Linked DNA regions of Homo sapiens: regions 1, 2, 3, 4 and 5 are each linked to region 6. The links are contacts of gene promoters, found by promoter capture Hi-C in human tissues and cell types (Jung and others, 2019). All regions are on one chromosome and are shown on one strand. The core of a region is centred on a gene start or on the middle of the fragment in contact, and the rest is flanking DNA. Distances in the headings are between cores, read along the strand shown.

Evidence for each region. Contacts are between HindIII fragments. The study calls those that stand out against the background at their distance.
Region 1: a contact is called between a fragment that was not itself captured here and the fragment with the promoter of USP25 in region 6, in 2 of the 25 tissues and cell types used here (dorsolateral prefrontal cortex and spleen).
Region 2: a fragment that was not itself captured here is called in contact with the fragment with the promoter of USP25 in region 6 in 1 of the 25 tissues and cell types used here (dorsolateral prefrontal cortex).
Region 3: a contact is called between a fragment that was not itself captured here and the fragment with the promoter of USP25 in region 6, in 1 of the 25 tissues and cell types used here (lymphoblastoid cells).
Region 4: a contact is called between a fragment that was not itself captured here and the fragment with the promoter of USP25 in region 6, in 1 of the 25 tissues and cell types used here (dorsolateral prefrontal cortex).
Region 5: a contact is called between a fragment that was not itself captured here and the fragment with the promoter of USP25 in region 6, in 1 of the 25 tissues and cell types used here (lymphoblastoid cells).

Annotation. Positions count from the first base shown.
Region 1 is chr21:14,559,689-14,562,573 of GRCh38, forward strand. It overlaps a transcript of SAMSN1 not described here. Among named protein-coding and RNA genes, the nearest start is that of SAMSN1, 15 kb to the left of the region's middle. The HindIII fragment of the contact is 4,835 bases long and covers 1-2,885 here.
Region 2 is chr21:17,592,340-17,595,204 of GRCh38, forward strand. It overlaps BTG3 (BTG anti-proliferation factor 3), which reads right to left. Exons shown (of 5, transcript NM_006806.5): 5 at 1,314-1,993. The coding sequence ends at 1,754. It also overlaps a transcript of CXADR not described here. Among named protein-coding and RNA genes, the nearest start is that of BTG3-AS1, 18 kb to the right of the region's middle. The HindIII fragment of the contact is 4,038 bases long and covers 1-2,865 here.
Region 3 is chr21:14,449,600-14,452,411 of GRCh38, forward strand. No RefSeq gene overlaps it. Among named protein-coding and RNA genes, the nearest start is that of HSPA13, 68 kb to the left of the region's middle. RefSeq lists a cis regulatory region at 2,521-2,682. The HindIII fragment of the contact is 8,805 bases long and covers 1-2,812 here.
Region 4 is chr21:17,518,231-17,521,022 of GRCh38, forward strand. The region is part of intron 1 of CXADR (CXADR cell adhesion molecule); the gene reads left to right. It also overlaps the pseudogene BTF3L4P1. Among named protein-coding and RNA genes, the nearest start is that of CXADR, 6.6 kb to the left of the region's middle. The HindIII fragment of the contact is 3,232 bases long and covers 1-2,792 here.
Region 5 is chr21:14,721,819-14,724,572 of GRCh38, forward strand. No RefSeq gene overlaps it. Among named protein-coding and RNA genes, the nearest start is that of SAMSN1-AS1, 140 kb to the left of the region's middle. The HindIII fragment of the contact is 3,165 bases long and covers 1-2,754 here.
Region 6 is chr21:15,728,598-15,731,297 of GRCh38, forward strand. It overlaps USP25 (ubiquitin specific peptidase 25), which reads left to right and starts at 1,385. Exons shown (of 26, transcript NM_001283041.3): 1 at 1,385-1,841. The coding sequence starts at 1,797. RefSeq lists a silencer at 990-1,949. The HindIII fragment of the contact is 10,815 bases long and covers 1-2,700 here.

The sequences.
Region 1 (2,885 bases), core at 120-2,619, 1.2 Mb before region 6:
GAGACAAGGTTATCCCTATGTTGCCCAGACTGGTCTTGAACTCCGGGCCTCAATTTATCCTCCCATTTCTGCTTCTCAAAGTGCTGGGATTACAGGTGTAAGCCACCAAGCCTGGCCTCAAAATCCCTCTTTTAGGCAGACAGAGATAAGAATGAATGGGATTTGAATTCCCCACAGGCATAATATATTGTTTCTGGGCTCTTCCCAGCATTCTTGTTATGCTGCAAGATTTGGAAGGAGGTGGTCTCATCTTATTTGTTTAACAATTATTTACCAAATATCTATTATGGGCCTGGGACTCTGTCAGGTGTCCAAAGACGGAAAGGTATGAACTGTGCCTTCCAAGACTTTACAGTTCAGTGGGAAGACAGGCAGATCAACAGAGAGTGAGAATCCAATGTAACATGTTCTGTATCAATCTGAGGTGTAATAAGCAGTGAAAGCATAGAGGGTAAATTGTTAATTTGCCTGGAGAAGTTAGGAAATGTTTTACTAAAAAGGTAATTCTTGAGAAAACATTTAGTGAAACAGGAATTTGTCAGGTGGACAAGAAAAATGGGGGGCATATTCTAGCAATGGGCAGAGTATATGATATTAGAGACATGAAATTGTTTGGTACTGAAACCATCTTTGCAAGATTATGGCAGCAAGAAATCTGACATAGCTGACTCCATCTTGCTTCTGACCTCCAAGCTGTCCTTGATCATTCCTGAGTGTAGGCCAAGCTAACTTTAGGAAGAATTTAGTATATAGTTTAATCTTAGAGCAAAGATTAAACTTCAAAACATGTCTCTTTCTTTGTTCAGGTAACATTATGCAGACAGGAGAGCTCTAATATAACATTTTGGACCAAACTGAGAGAGAAGAGGGGTGATCTTTTCTGCATTCTGTTTGTCTGTTTCATAGACAAGAAAACTCTGAGGAAGTTTAGTAATCAACAAGCTTTAGAAATTTTGAAAACTGGAAGAAAGGTATATCTCTCTATTTCCCATCTCTACTTCATGCTCCACATTTTAGTCAGTGCCTTTTATCTAACCACAAATCTAACTGTGTCCCTCTCTTGCTTCACAATGGTTCTTCAGTGGTTCCCCACCCCATGTAAATGTATACATGCTCGCCTTACATTCAGCTCTACGCTATTGAGCATAGTATATTAGTTTTCCAAGGCTGCCATAACGAAGTCATACAAACTGGGTGGCTTATAGCAGCAGATATTATTGTCTCAGTATTGGAGGCTAAAAGTCCAAAACTAAACCGTCTTTGCAAAACTAATGAAAGGCCACATTGTTAGGCTTTTATGAGAGGGTCTTGAACACTGATAAGATAGACACAGTTTCTACCATTCCTTACTGCTCAGGGGTCATGTAGCCAGAGGTTACAATATTTGTGACTTTCCTAATTTCTCCTGTAGATAACATCACTATTGTAGAATCTAAGATTGGTTTTTTGAGGTATCTTTCACGCTGCCCCACCCAGACTCATGACTCAACTGGTCATGTGGCCTCATCCAGAGGCAGACTCAGTGCCCGAGGACCATTTTCAACACCCTGTGATTTCATTCCCCAGCCAATCAGCAGCACCCATTCCCTAACTCCCTGCCCACAAAATTGTCCATAAAAACCACCTCCAAGCCTTTGGGGAGCCTGATTAGAGTGATAACTCTAGTTCTTCTGCATGGGCTGGCCTCAATCAATTAAATTCTTCTCTACTGCAATGCCATAGTTTCAGTGGATTTATGCTGTTTGCGTAGTTGGCAGGAAAACCTGTTGGGCAAATACAATATGGTCTAGAACTGAGGAATAATTCCCTACATCAAATGTGTATGATAAATAAGGAGAAAGACATGGGAGGGAGATGACAGGTGTTAGTTTACAGCCAGATTCTGAAGCATTTGGATGGCATGTGTTATGGGTTGAACTATATGGCCAAAAAAGATATGTTGAATTCCTGACCCCCAGCACCTCAGAATGTGACCCTCTTTGGAAATACGATTGTTGCCAACATAATTAGTTTAGTTAAGATGAGGTCATATGAAGCAGGGTGAACCCTTAATCCAATAAAACCAGTGTCCTTGAAAGAAGAGGGAAACTTGGACACCCACATGCACAAAGGGATGACCATATAAGAACAAACAGGGAGAGACTGGCCATGTGAAGATGGAGGCAGGAAGTGGAATTATGCCACCATGAATCAAGGAATGCCTAATGCCCAGGGCTATCAGAAGCTGGAAGAAACAAGGAAGGAGTCTCTCCTAGAGGCTTTGAAAAGAGCATGGCCCTGCCAATACCTTGATTTTGGACTTTTAGCCTCCAGAACTGAGACAATAATATCTGTGGCTGTAAGCCACCCAGTTTGTATGACTTTGTTATGGCAGCCTTGGAAAACCAATATACTATGCTCAATAGTGTAGAGCTGAATGTAAGGTGAGCATGTATACATTTACATGGGGTGGGGAACAATTGAAGAACCATTGTGAAGCAAGAGAGGGACACAGTTAGATATGTGGTTAGATAAAAGGCACTGGCTGAAATGTGGAGCATGGAGTAGAGATGGGAAATAGAGAGATATACCTTTCTTCCAATTTTCAAAATTTCTAAAGCTTGTTGATCACTAAACTTCCTCGGTGTTTTCCTGTCTATGAAACAGACAAACAGAATGCAGAAAAGATCACCCCTCTTCTCTCTCAGTTTGGTCCAACATGTTATATTAGAGCTCTCCTGTCTGCATAATGTTACCTGAACAAAGAAAGAGACATGCTTTGAAATATAATCCTGCCAGGTCCCCTTATTTAGTGATGGGAATGTCATAGTGAAAAATGATAATACTAATACTATCTATACTATATATATTTATATATATGTATGTATATAATACTATATAATATG
Region 2 (2,865 bases), core at 188-2,687, 1.9 Mb after region 6:
TGTACATCCTTTAAATCTAGATAATACCTAATGCAATGTAGTTATATTTTAAAATTTGTATTTTTTTAATTTTTGAGTATTTTCCATACATGGTTAAATACAGATGAAAAACCTACAGATGAGGACCAATTTGCTCATAAGCAAAGCAATAAATAAATTCTGTCTGCTAACTTCATGATAAAAATACTTGAAACTTTCCAACTTTACGCCAATCACCTACAAATCTGTCATTATCACCACAAAACTCTCAAGGACCCATAAGGAAGCAGTGTGATGACTCTGAAAGTAATTTTTTTTTCCTTTTTTTCTTTCAATAACTTTGGTTAAAAAAAATTGATAAAACGCATCTCCCTTGTGACACTAATAAACAAACATGCTCATGTTTGAATAGGCAGTCACTAGATTTCAGGAAAAGAGTAGATATGGTTTAGAGAGATGTTAAAATTGTGTATGGCTTAAAGAGTACAATATTAAAGCTAGAAAAGTCTCTAAGGTTTAAAAATGAGTTTTCTGAAGTTGCAAACTTTAAAAACTGACATTTTCATACTATTGAGCTATACCTTTATGATTTGTGCAGTTTTGTATTTCAACAGAATTTATCTTCCTAAAAATAACAATAATTTGTGGAATAGCCATGGCCATTCAATGATTTATTAGCAAGTTGTGATTTTTCTGGTAAGTCAAATAATTTAAGACTGCAAATTTAAAGATGAAGGTGATGGAAAAAGTATTGCTGATCTTAGTTTTTAAAAATTTACCTTTGGAGAAAAATCAAAACTCTTATAGAGATATCTCTTTTTTTCTTTTTGTAGTTCAAGTACCCTTACAAGACTGATGGAATTACAGTTGTATAAATATGGACTACTGAAGAATCTGAAGTATTGTATTATTTGACTTTATTTTAGGCCTCTAGTAAAGACTTAAATGTTTTTTAAAAAAAGCACAAGGCACAGAGATTAGAGCAGCTGTAAGAACACATCTACTTTATGCAATGGCATTAGACATGTAAGTCAGATGTCATGTCAAAATTAGTACGAGCCAAATTCTTTGTTAAAAAACCCTATGTATAGTGACACTGATAGTTAAAAGATGTTTTATTATATTTTCAATAACTACCACTAACAAATTTTTAACTTTTCATATGCATATTCTGATATGTGGTCTTTTAGGAAAAGTATGGTTAATAGTTGATTTTTCAAAGGAAATTTTAAAATTCTTACGTTCTGTTTAATGTTTTTGCTATTTAGTTAAATACATTGAAGGGAAATACCCGTTCTTTTCCCCTTTTATGCACACAACAGAAACACGCGTTGTCATGCCTCAAACTATTTTTTATTTGCAACTACATGATTTCACACAATTCTCTTAAACAACGACATAAAATAGATTTCCTTGTATATAAATAACTTACATACGCTCCATAAAGTAAATTCTCAAAGGTGCTAGAACAAATCGTCCACTTCTACAGTGTTCTCGTATCCAACAGAGTTGATGCACAATATATAAATACTCAAGTCCAATATTAAAAACTTAGGCACTTGACTAACTTTAATAAAATTTCTCAAACTATATCAATATCTAAAGTGCATATATTTTTTAAGAAAGATTATTCTCAATAACTTCTATAAAAATAAGTTTGATGGTTTGGCCCATCTAACTTCACTACTATTAGTAAGAACTTTTAACTTTTAATGTGTAGTAAGGTTTATTCTACCTTTTTCTCAACATGACACCAACACAATCAAAAACGAAGTTAGTGAGGTGCTAACATGTGAGGATTAATCCAGTGATTCCGGTCACAATGCATTCCAGGAGGAGGTACCCATGTCACTGGAATTGGGCGATATGGTTTATTTTTTCTTCCCTGATTTGGATAACCAAATGGAACAGGAGGAGGATAGTGATTCTGATGGCCATTCCCTCGATACATTCCTGGCTTTTTTCTGGGCAAAGGGTGCCACATTGGAAGAGGTGGAAATATAAGTTCTGAAATCTGTAGGGAAGAGAACACATTAAGTTAATTCAAAGGAAAAAATCATCATCTATGTTCCAGATTTCTCATTAAAGACAAACAAAGTTACCCACAACACTGAGATCACATCTAAGTGACACTCCTATTGTCAGGTCTAAATACATTAAAAACCTCATGTGTAATAGGCGTATAATGTATAACAGGTGACCAATGTTTTCTGAATGCATAAAGAAATGAATAAACTCAAACACAGTACTTCCTAAACAACTTCAACCAAAAAAGACCAAAACATGGAACGAATGGAAGCTTGTAAGGACATGCTTGTTTTAGTCCAGTGGTTTCCACAGCTGGCTAAGCCAGGAGTCACTTGGAGGCTTTTAAATACAAAACATTGGAGCTGGAGGCCATTATCCTTAGCAAACTAATGCAGAAACAGAAAATCAACTACCGCATGTTCTCACTTATAAGTGGGAGGTAATGATAAGAACTTATGAACACAAAGAAGGAAACAATAGACATTGGAGTCTATTTGAGAGGGGAGGGTGGGAGAAGGAAAAGGAGCAGAAAAGATAACTATTGAGTACTGGGCTTCACACCTGGGTGATGAAATAATATGTACAACAAATCCCTGTGACACATGTTTACCTATGGAACAAACCTTCATGTGTATCCCTAAACCTAAAATAAAAGTTAAAAAAAAAAAAAGATAAACACAAAACATTCATGCCCTAGCACTGGTCTAATGAACAATAATAAAATCTCAGAACTAGAGGCCAGGTATTTTGACAAAGCTCCCCAGGTGATTCTGATGTAGCCAGTTTAGTATTTGGGAATAATAGTTTTAGATTATCCCATAAATCAGGTGGGCACGTCAGGTTCACATTATTCAAAGT
Region 3 (2,812 bases), core at 159-2,658, 1.3 Mb before region 6:
AAGATGCCATACTTTCTTTCAACCAACTTTAACATCTTATCTGTAAGCATACTAGAATTGGAAAAACAAACAAACAACAAAAAAACCTGGTTCAATTATTTCTATAACAGTGCCTTTCACTAGTGAGTGTGAAATCAGTTTTGCAGGTCAAAACCAGCATTTCAAATATGAAGTAGAAAAAATAAAATAGAAAATATTTAAGTGAAGTGCATGAAATTGGGGGAAATATTATTTCATGACATTTTGTTTCCATTTTTTTCTTTGTGTATGTGAGACCTCACATACTAAATCCTTATGAAAAATTTATTTCTTGGGAGATGACAGTGAAAAAAAAGGTTAAGAAGTAATCTTTTTTAAAAAATAACTTTATGCTTTTTGATTTGAGGATTGTTTTGACAATATGATAAAAGTTATGGTTCTTCTCTCAAAATAAAGGCACACAAATCTACACACCTATGTTTTGGGTACAAACGTAAAGGGCTGATAAACCATATGACTCTCATCCACTGTGCTCAAGTTGAGGACATCTGCTCTAGCTAAAAATGGCATGTATTCTCTGGAAAGGGAAGAAATGGCCCTGGAGATCTCTTCTGTGCTCTTGGCCTCAACATTTAAATATTCAGCCTGAATGCCTTTAGTATTTTAAAGCTAACAGCATAGCCTGAAGCGGATGAGATGATGAGATGTTAGCACATTTGGTTAATAACTTTTTATTAAATAAAGTAAAACTAAGTATATGGCGATGTTCAAACCATTCCACACCAGCTCCACTGAACTTACATTCCAAAGAGGAAGAAAGGCAATAAGCAACTAAATAATAAATGAATGAAGTAATTTCAGATAGGGTTAAGTGTTATAGAGGAAATAATTGGAATGATGAAATAGAGAAAACTGGAGAGGAGGTGCAATAAGTTAAGGAAGATACAGTAGTTTATTGTGAATGAAGGTCCAGGGAATGCCTCTTTTTTATTAGATATGATTACTGTACCAATATCTGTGGTCATGCCTCCTCTACCACATTACAACTATCAGTGCTTTACAATATTTCAAGAACTCCATGAATATTTGTAGATTGGTGACTTTATTTCAGAATTGATGGAGAAAATATCATGGCTAAGAGTATAGATTCTAGCATCAGACTGCCTAAGATTGGATCCTTGCTTTGTCCTTTACTGACAATGTAGTTGGAGGGAAGTTACTTAATCTTGTTGACTTTCTATTTCTTCTAGTTTATCTCTAAAATGGGAAAAATAGTATTACCTACATGATAAGGAGGATTAAATAGGTTAAGATATGTAAAGAGCTTGTGTATTACATTTTCTGGTTATCCACTCCAGAATTCAGTGGCTTCAAGTAACAGGCATTTTATGATATCTCACAATTTTCTGGGTCAGAAATGTAGGCAGATCTCAAAAGGGCAATTCTTCTCCTTCATTCTTCTGTTTCATCGGTTGGCCATTGGTGGTATTTGGCTGGCAAATGAGCTGGTTGGGAGGTCCAGGTGGCTTTACCCACATATCTAGCATGTGTAGGTATGACTGGAAGGCTGAAAAGATTGACCAGATGTCCTACTTGTGACCTTTCCAGCAGACCTTCTCAGGATAATCAGATTTCTTATGCAGAAGCTCAAGACTCTGAGACAGAGTGTTTTAAGAAAAGAGAAATAGGTGCTGCCAGATTTTTAGGGGCCAGGTCCAGAAACTAACACAGAGACAGTTTTGTCCTGTTCAACTCATCAAAGCCATTAGAGATACAACCCAGATTGAGGGAGGAATTCTAGATTCCATCTCTCTATGGGAAAAATATCAAAAAATGTATAGCCATCTTTAACCTGCCACACTATCTACAGCACTTAGAAAGTACTAGTTAAGACTCTAAGCTATAATTATTTTATCTTGTTTTTACCTTTCAAAAACTCTGGTTATGTTTATTTCAGATTGAGTAGCAAAATCAACCTTTAGCCTTGATTTCTCTTTACCTTTTCCGTCCCTAATTTTTAAAATAGCCCTCATCAGTAGGTGCCAGTTGGAGATTTAAAAACAGGCATGCCCTATACAAGCCAGTGAGTATTAATTGTGAGTGTTTCCCTCTCATGGTAGCAACAGTTTTTATTTATGTCATAAGTCACACATATCTTGGTTTCAGTATATTCATTGGTAGCCCATAATCCCACTAATATTACCACACAGCTGTGTGTGTTTCTTCTTCAGAGAACAAGGGAACAAGACTTAGCAGCAAGGTGATATCTGAGTACATTAAAATTCATAGTGAACAATAAAATGTTTCTTGACCCATATACGACTTGACTGAACCCCAGTTTGTTACTTTTTTCTCCCCAATATCAACAAAATCTTCCAAATTAAAACAGCAGAAACACAAAGCCACATAAAAAGTTGAACGAGTTCACATTTTAAAATTTCTTGTAAAAGACTGATGATTGTGTGACCTTAATCTAAACAGACATTTCCTGTAACCGCTTATGCCCCATAAGGAATCTGCAGCTAATAGGGCCTCTGCATTCTTATCTATTGGCTTGGCTGTCTGAATGAGTATGTATTTGCTTTGACCATCTGCTCCTATCCCTCATTTTTTATTTAATTTTTTTTCAGATTTAATACTGTCCTGAGGTACACAAATGCTCTTTTTGGTTTGTGAAGCTCAAGGTCAATTTAAAGGCAAGTCCCTAGAGAAGTGAGCATTTGTGACTAGGTCATCTATTTCCCTGAATCTGTTACAGCTTTTGAGACGTATGTAAGAAGGAGAAAGCAGATAAGCCAAATTGGTTTTTGAGACGAGGGGCACCTACAAATGT
Region 4 (2,792 bases), core at 133-2,632, 1.8 Mb after region 6:
TACATAAGCAAACATACACCAAAAATACCCCAAACCAAAAACAAAAAAACCAGGAATCAAAACCCAGAACACCCTCAAACTGCACCAATACTTCATATTTTGACCAAAAAAATATCCTGAGAGGAAGGCAAAATGCAAAATCAAATGACAGAAAAATGCTGAACAGCATTATTAATATACAAAATATTTATATTAGTGAACTAGTAACAGGTGATGTTCTCTGTGTCTGTAAAACTTTGGAACCACATAGCTGATTTGTTCAATCTAGTCCATGCCAGCTTCCAAAAACCATGCCAGCTTCATTCTTTGATGCCTCATCAAAATTTTCTACAAGATCGGGAACATCATCATCCTCCTCATCAGTGTCTTCTGGTTTTGCTGCTTTACTGTCCAAGACTTGCCGTGGGAACTGTTCAGCTAACTTCCTAAGGCTTGTTAAACTGTCAGCACCAAGCTGACTTAATATTCCAGGTATCATTTCTGTGATTGGTTTGGCTTCTGCATGACCAGTAATTGCAAAGGTGTTAGCAGAAAGGGAAGCTTGGACTTTGGGATTGTTGAAGTGAATAACTGTCCCATCATCTTTAATCATGTTCATCTCTTCAATACCAACTATATTATTCACAGCCAGTTTTTTTAGAGAACTCTGAAGCTTTTTGTCATCAGCCATGGCTGTTTTATGTACCACCTTCTTTCTGCGAGCTGTACCCTTGCCCCCTATCCGGACCTGAGCCTGAAGTTTGGCTAACTTTTCTTGATTCATGCTGTTGGTAAATCTGAAGCAGGGAGGGTCCTCCAGCACCAGCACGCGGCAAGAGCAAGATGGCTGCCCGATATGCCCCCTCTTAATCTTTTCATTCCTGCGATTATACCACCATCAGAGGAAAAATGCCTCCCCTCCAAGGCAAGCCTCCCTACATTGGCTCCTTACCCTGTCTGTTGTGGGGTCTCCATCGATTACCAACTTAGCTCACTGCACTAGATCAGAGGACAGGGCCATTACCTATATTCATTGTTGCAGTCCCTGCATGGTCTTGTGGCTCCTGGCAGACAGCTAGTGTTCAGCAAGTCCTTTTTGCATGACTGAAAGTTTTCAACTTCTTTGCCACTAGGCCTGTGTGTATGATAGAGCTCTCTTCAGTTCATCACTCTCTCCCTTCTCATCTAATAAAGATGGTCCTTACAGTGATTATTCCACTAGTCATGTCTGAGTCAGTTTTTAATCTAAAGAAGCTGAGCTTCTGCTTTATCTTTGACCTCGTTCTATTTTTTCTCCTGCTTCAGTTGCCAAAGGTTACAGTAATGCATGTGCCAAATTGGTTTATCTCTTTGGAACTCCTTGACACCTATTTTGGTTCTTTCCCACCCTGTTGACCTGCGCTTTACTGTCTTCTAAAATAGGTCCCTTAAATGTCAGCCTTCCTTATAGTTTAGCCCATAGTCAATCTTGACCTTAAACCTGGGTGACCTCTTGTATCCATCATGGTAATCTCCCAAGTATTGGTAGTGAATTAAAAATATTTTCAGCTCCCAGCCTGGCCAACATGGTGAAACCCTGTCTGTACTAAAAATACAAAAATTAGCCAGGTGTGGTGATGTGCGTCTGTAATCCCAGCTACTCAGGAGGCTGAAGCAGGAGAATTGCTTGAAGCTGGGAGGCTGAGGTTTCAGTGAGCTGAGATCGCGCCACTGCACTCCAGCCTGGGTGACAGAGCGAGACTCCATCTCAAAATAAATTATATGTATACACACACACACACACGCACGCACATGCACACACACACATATATATATAAAATATATATTTGCACCTCAACCCACCTCTGCTTTGGATCCTGGGCCACTATTTCCAACTGCGTAACTATTCAACTTCCATTCGAATACCTAACACTCTTCACTCTCCAAGTACACTCACCTGTTAATTAAGTGATACTTAATGTACTGATACTACTATGTGCAAAGCCATGTGCCAGGTGCCCCTACAATAGAACATGACATTGCAAGTTGCAAAAGCTTTGGCAGAATTTTCCAGTCAGATGGTACAGCTTTTGCAAAGACATAGAGATCTGAAGGGTTTGATATGTCTTGGGAGTTGAGTAGTTCAGTGCATGTAAGGCACCTAACCAGTGCTTCTCAAACTTTGTGCATCTGAATGATTCTTACAAGGAAGTCTAGGTGGGGCTTGTGAGTTTGCATTTTAACAAGTTTTACATGATGTCACTGCTGACCACGTTTTGTGTGGGCAAAGATCTAAAGGCCATACTGAGAGCTTGGTGGGAGCTGACAGGTCTGTCAGGTTATGCACCCTAACCCCACGGTACTAAGACATTTGTGGAAGTGTCGAGAAGTAAGGTTATACGCTGAGATTTATTTTATTGAATGGTAGCTATGTAGCAGTTCTCAAGGAAGGTAGAACTGATAGAGCTAACACAGGAATCCTCTGGGATGATCTGGACGTAAGCAGTCCCTGTTGAAACGCAGCAGAAGAGAGTTGGGCTTCTGCTTTGATCTGGAAAGCTTTTCTGAAGAAGATAGTAGTGGAACCTGATGTCTGGTTGCTTGAATGAGTAGCATGAAAAAGTTGGAGAGATTTCTGGCTTGAGTGTATAATGATGTCACTAACCTACGGGAAATAAAAAGGAGCAGGTTTTAGGGAGATGACAATGAGCTTAAGTTTGGACAGGTAGTATTTGAGGTGCCTGAGAGGCAAGGAGGTAAAAAAATATCTGATAGGAAGATTGCAACACAGGACTGGATTTCAGGAAAGAGACAGACATTGGTGATACAGACTT
Region 5 (2,754 bases), core at 190-2,689, 1.0 Mb before region 6:
ATAGTCATTTGCAACTGGAAGCTATGGCCAGGATAGAGGTCATTATCCTTATTGGCACCTCTGGCAGTGTCCAAATTTTAGAGCATATGGCCAAATGCACATGGTCATTAATTCGCATGGATCCACTGACCAACATGAAATGATATATAACTTGCCTTCATGGACCAAAGCAGGAGGAGCTTCTATGCTAATGAAGTCTGGCCAATCCTGAACCTATTTCTCTCTCTCTCTCTTTTTTTTTTAATATATATTATTTTATTTTACTTTAAGTTCTGGGATGGATGTGCAGAACGTGCAGGTTTGTTACATAGGTACACATGTGCCATGGTGGTTTGCTGCACCTATCAACCCGTCATCTAGGTTTTAAGCCCTGCATGCATTAGGTATTTGTCCAAATACTATCCCTCCCCTTGCCTCCTACCCCTCAACAGGCCCTAGTGTGTGATGTTTCCCTCTCTGTGTCCACATGTTCTCATTGTACAACTCCCACTTATGAGTGAGAACATGTGGTGTTTGGTTTTCGGTTCTTGTGATAGTTTGCTGAGAATGACGGTTTCCAGCTTCATCCGTGTCCATGCAAAGGACATGAACTCATTCTTTTTTTATGGCTGCATAGTATTCCACGGTGTATATGTGCCACATTTTCTTTATCCAGTCTATCATTGATGGGCATTTGGGTTGGTTCCAAGTCTTTGCTATTGTAAATAGTGCTGCAATAAAAATATGTGTGCATGTGTCTTTATAGTAGAATGATTTATAATCCTTTGGGCATATACCCAGTAATGGGATTGCTGGGTCAAATGGTATTTCTGTCCTAAACCGATTTCTAAGGAGAAATAAAGTTGCTCCTAAACTTCAGCTTCTTAAATTTTTATCAACTCTAGATATATTTTGGTAGAAAACTGCCCAAGCTTTACCGGAATTCCTAAAGAGGAAGGATTCCTAGGGTACAGCTATAAGTGGCCCAGGATAGTCTGCAATAATAATTGGCATAGCATTGAAATAAATATCTTGGGTGCTGCAACACCCTTTAAACTACACTCGTCTAAAAGGCCACGTGTTTTGCCTTTAGGGGATAACTTTGTTGTGTTGATCACCTGCAGGAGTTTCCATACCAGTGTCTAAATGCTTCAAGAGGAAGCACTTAGTCTTAGGTATCTTTGCAATTCTAAAGAAACCCACAGCACTCATTAAGTGTTTGATGAATTAAACTGAAACAGTAGAGAGCAATTTTACTCCGGCTAAAGTTACATGTAAACAAGACTTGAGGTTTTAGCACCCCATGGGGATGCCATAGTTGGCTCCCCTTACATTTCTTTATGTATTCCAGAATACTTTTGGAGTGCCTCTTCTGAAGTGTTAGGTACTAGGAATGGGTTTCCTGTCCTTAGGAGGCTTACTATCTGTCAGAGATGCTCAGGTGCCTTGGCTAATTGTTATCTGGTTATTATCTATCAAGGAACAATTACTACCAAGGCCTGTAGGAGGCATAGATTTACGTAGAAAACAAGGTGTAGTTTCAGTGTGAGGTAGAACTGATGGGTAAAGAAGCAGTTAAAATTGAATACGAGGAGTTACCTAAAGGGGTAAGCAGGGAATGGGAAGGAAGAAGTTATATCTAAACTGGAACCTGAGGCCAGGTGCGGTGGCTCATGCCTGTAATCTCAGCACTTTGGGAGGCTGAGGCAGGCAGGTCACTTGAAATCAGGAGTTTCAGACCAGCCTGGTCAACCCCGTCTCTACTAAAAATACAAAAATTAGCTGGGCATGGTGGTGCACACCTGTAATCCCAGCTACTCTGGAGGCTGAGGCAGGAGAATTGCTTCAATCTCAGAGGCAGAGATTGCAGTGAAACGTGATTAAATACTTACTGGCATTACTCTTATCCCTAATATCACCTTAAAACTTAAAGACTGTCAATATCTGTTAGAGTCAGAGTGAAAAAGAATTCTGACATCACTGAGTTAAACATAGTGGAAATTAAGTTGCTGAAAATAAAAAAATGTATATTCTTTAAATGATAACTAAAAATATGCATACATACCCTTATTAGTTTTTAGGGATATTCGTTGAAAATGAGGATTTATCTTCACTCAATTTTAACATAAAATCTAAAGATTACTTAGAATTATAAAACATAATTTAAATAAAATAAAAATATATATAAAATAAACATTAAAATCAATATAAAAGGCAACTAGGAAAGTTTAACAATTTCTAACATTTCAAAGACTTCTTTTTTCCCTTATTGTTTTTTCCTTATTGTTTGTCAATTTCTAATTTAAATACATTAAGAATTAGGGCCAGGCATGCTGACTCATGCCTGTAATCCCAGCACTTTGGGAGGCCGTCACGGCCAGATCACGAGGTCTAGAGATCGAGACCACCCCGGACAACATGGTTAAACCCCGTCTCTACTGAAAATATAAAAAATTAGCTGGGCGTGATGGCACACACCTGTAGTCCCAGCTACTCGAGAGGCTGAGGCAGGAAAATCACTTGAACCTGGGAGGTGGAGGTTGCAATGAGCTGAGATTGTGTCACTGCACTCCAGCCTGGGCCACAAGAGAGAGACTCTGTCTCAAAAAAAAAAAAAAAAAAAAAATTAGAAAATCACACATATCTCAAATTCTACATTACAGATCAAACTGTCTTTCAATAATTCTTTGGTTTATCTTTATCTTAGCCAATAATTCCTCTTTTATCTATTGTTATTAAATTCCATTTGATTTTCTTATCTTTTGTATCCAATAG
Region 6 (2,700 bases), core at 135-2,634:
AAACTTTGATCTATAAATGAAGAAAAATGGGTTTTGATAAGCTCTCTTTGACAGGTCACCCTCCTTGGGCTTCAGAGTTATAAAAAAATCGATACGTGAGATTAGAGATGTGACAGTATTTCTAAATTTCTGTTTCCAACCGTTTCATGACTTTTCATTTCCTCTAGAAAAGACATAGGATATTAATATAATAAGATTTGCAATTTGTTAAATATCAAATGAGTCAACAAATATGAAGCTTCAAGGAAAAGGTGACAACAGGTGGTACCAGACATCTGAGCTGCAGAACAAAGATGGTTGTAAAGTGCACAGAACTGTTACAAAGCCTTAAGAGCTACTATAATCCATGATTATTAAATAACACCACATACTATTTCAATTAGCATTTGCCAAGCTTGCTTTCCTTGTCATTGGATTAAAAATTATACCCGGATTTTCAAGTGTATTCTATTTGTGACAATATGCATTGATAATTTCTCTCCTCACACTGCTGCACTCTCACCTCCGTTCCCAGATTAGCTCCTGGAACTCGAGATATTTTTGTGGCTAGAGATTGCTTTCTTAATGTTAGATTTTCCTTACAATTCCATATATAGTCAAGCATTCCATGCATGGTAGTTAATTGTTTGCTTAATTTGGCAACTGGGATATTAGAATTATGTATCATTAGGCAGTGATATTTTTGTAAGGTTGTTTGCTAGATAGATCCTATTTCATTTATATTAAGTCTTGGGAAGATAAACTTTATTTTTCCAGAGCCTAGCAGTGACTGACACATATTCGAATGAATGAAGGTAGATAGAAAATGTCTATATTCATTTACGTAATGATTAGTTAAGGAGAAAAGTACTTCCCAGCATAAAGATTTCTGGCAACCCTTTGCTTATTTGACTTTTCCCTTCAGGCAAGTTCAAGGCTTGTGAAATTCCTAGAAAGGCGAGGGGAGAGAACGCGTGACACAGAAAGGGGCCGGAGTTCGGGACCCTACGCAGTTTTGGGACGTTATGGGCATGGAGGGAAATGTTTGCTTTGGAGGCTTTGGGTAAGCTAGGGATCCGACAAGCCCTGGGCGCAGGGAGGAACGCTGCCCTCCGGCCTCCAGTCGCGCTCCCCGAAGCCCAGCGCCAGCGTCGCGCAACCTGCCGCAGGGGCGGCTCCCGGGCCAGGCAGCCAGGCGCGCCCTCGCCCCACCCGGGAACGCCAGGCCCGCGCAGGGAGGGGCGGGGCTCCATGGCGGCCCCGCCCCGCCGCCCGGAGGGTCACAATGTAGGGTTAGGGCGGCCGGCGGGCGGGGCTCTGCGGGGGAGGAGCCGCCGGGCGGGGGCGGGGATGGCGCGTGGGGGAGGGGAGGGAGGAGGACTCGCGGAGGGAGGAGGACAACGCCATTCCGGGCGGCCGCTCCCTCCGTCCCCTCTCTCCCTTCCCCAAAGCAGCCCGCGGACCGGCAGCAAAGGAACGTGCGAACGCGTGACGCCGCCCGACTGGCTCGCGCTCTCCCGTGCCCCGGCGTCCTCCGCCCGCTCATGGCCCGGGCCGCCGCGGACGAGCGGCGCTGAGGCGGGCCGCGTGGAGACGTGAGGCGGCCGCCGTGGCCCTCACAGTCGGCGTTTCGCCGCCTGCCCGCGGTGCCCGCGCACGCCGGCCGCCATCGCCTTCGCGCCTGGCTGGCGGGGGCGCTGTCCTCCCAGGCCGTCCGCGCCGCTCCCTGGAGCTCGGCGGAGCGCGGCAGCCAGGGCCGGCGGAGGCGCGAGGAGCCGGGCGCCACCGCCGCCGCCGCCGCCGCCGCCGCGGGGGCCATGACCGTGGAGCAGAACGTGCTGCAGCAGAGCGCGGCGCAGAAGGTGAGGCGAGTCCGCCAGCCGGCGGGCCCCACTTCTCCTTCCGACGGGCTGTCCTCTCCCGCTGCGGCCGGGCGCCCCGGCCTCGCCGCCGCCGCCTTCCCGGGCTTCCTCCCCGGTCACCCCCGGCCCCTGCCCATCGCCTCGGGGGCGTCGCGCCCAGAGCCCAGCTGCGTGTGGGAAGCAGAGTGTAGTTTGCGGGCTTCAATCCACTTCCTTCTGCCGATTGTTTTCCCGTAGCAGACGGTGCCAGGTATTGAGAGCGACCCTCACATTCCTACAGTGCTCTGTGTGGCATCTTAATGAAACTTTATTCTCTCCCCTTAAATGAGAAAGAATAGCTAGTTGTCATCCTTTCTGAACCGATTTTGTCTTTCAAAGGTAGTAGTGTACCAGGCCTGCTATTTTGCAAAACGGTCTCCACCAAAATCGAATTACCTGCCTCGCGGGGCAGGCGTGTTGACCAGGTGGACTCTAGAAGTAGGTGGTTTGCTTGGTTTCTTTTCCTTTTAAGGTTTCCCTTTCTTCTTCTTCTTTTCTGTTTTTTTTTTTTTTTTTTTTTTTTTCAATATAGAAACTGTCCCTAAGAGAGGAAACCTTTCTGGCCATGTTATTCCAGGAATCTTTTGTCCCCTAAGTTTGACCTTGTTCTTTCGTTCACCCTTTACTCTTGCATCAGTCACACATTCAAATGGTCACTCACTAAAGAAAACAATTAAAAAACTGTTTGTGAAACTTTATATCTTTAAAGTGAATAGAGATCATTCTGCTATTTTAGATTTTGCTTTCAGAATCTTAAGTGCACTATCATGGCTTGCACCATGTTCTGAAGAGTAGTTGGCCATGATTTAACTTCTTTTTT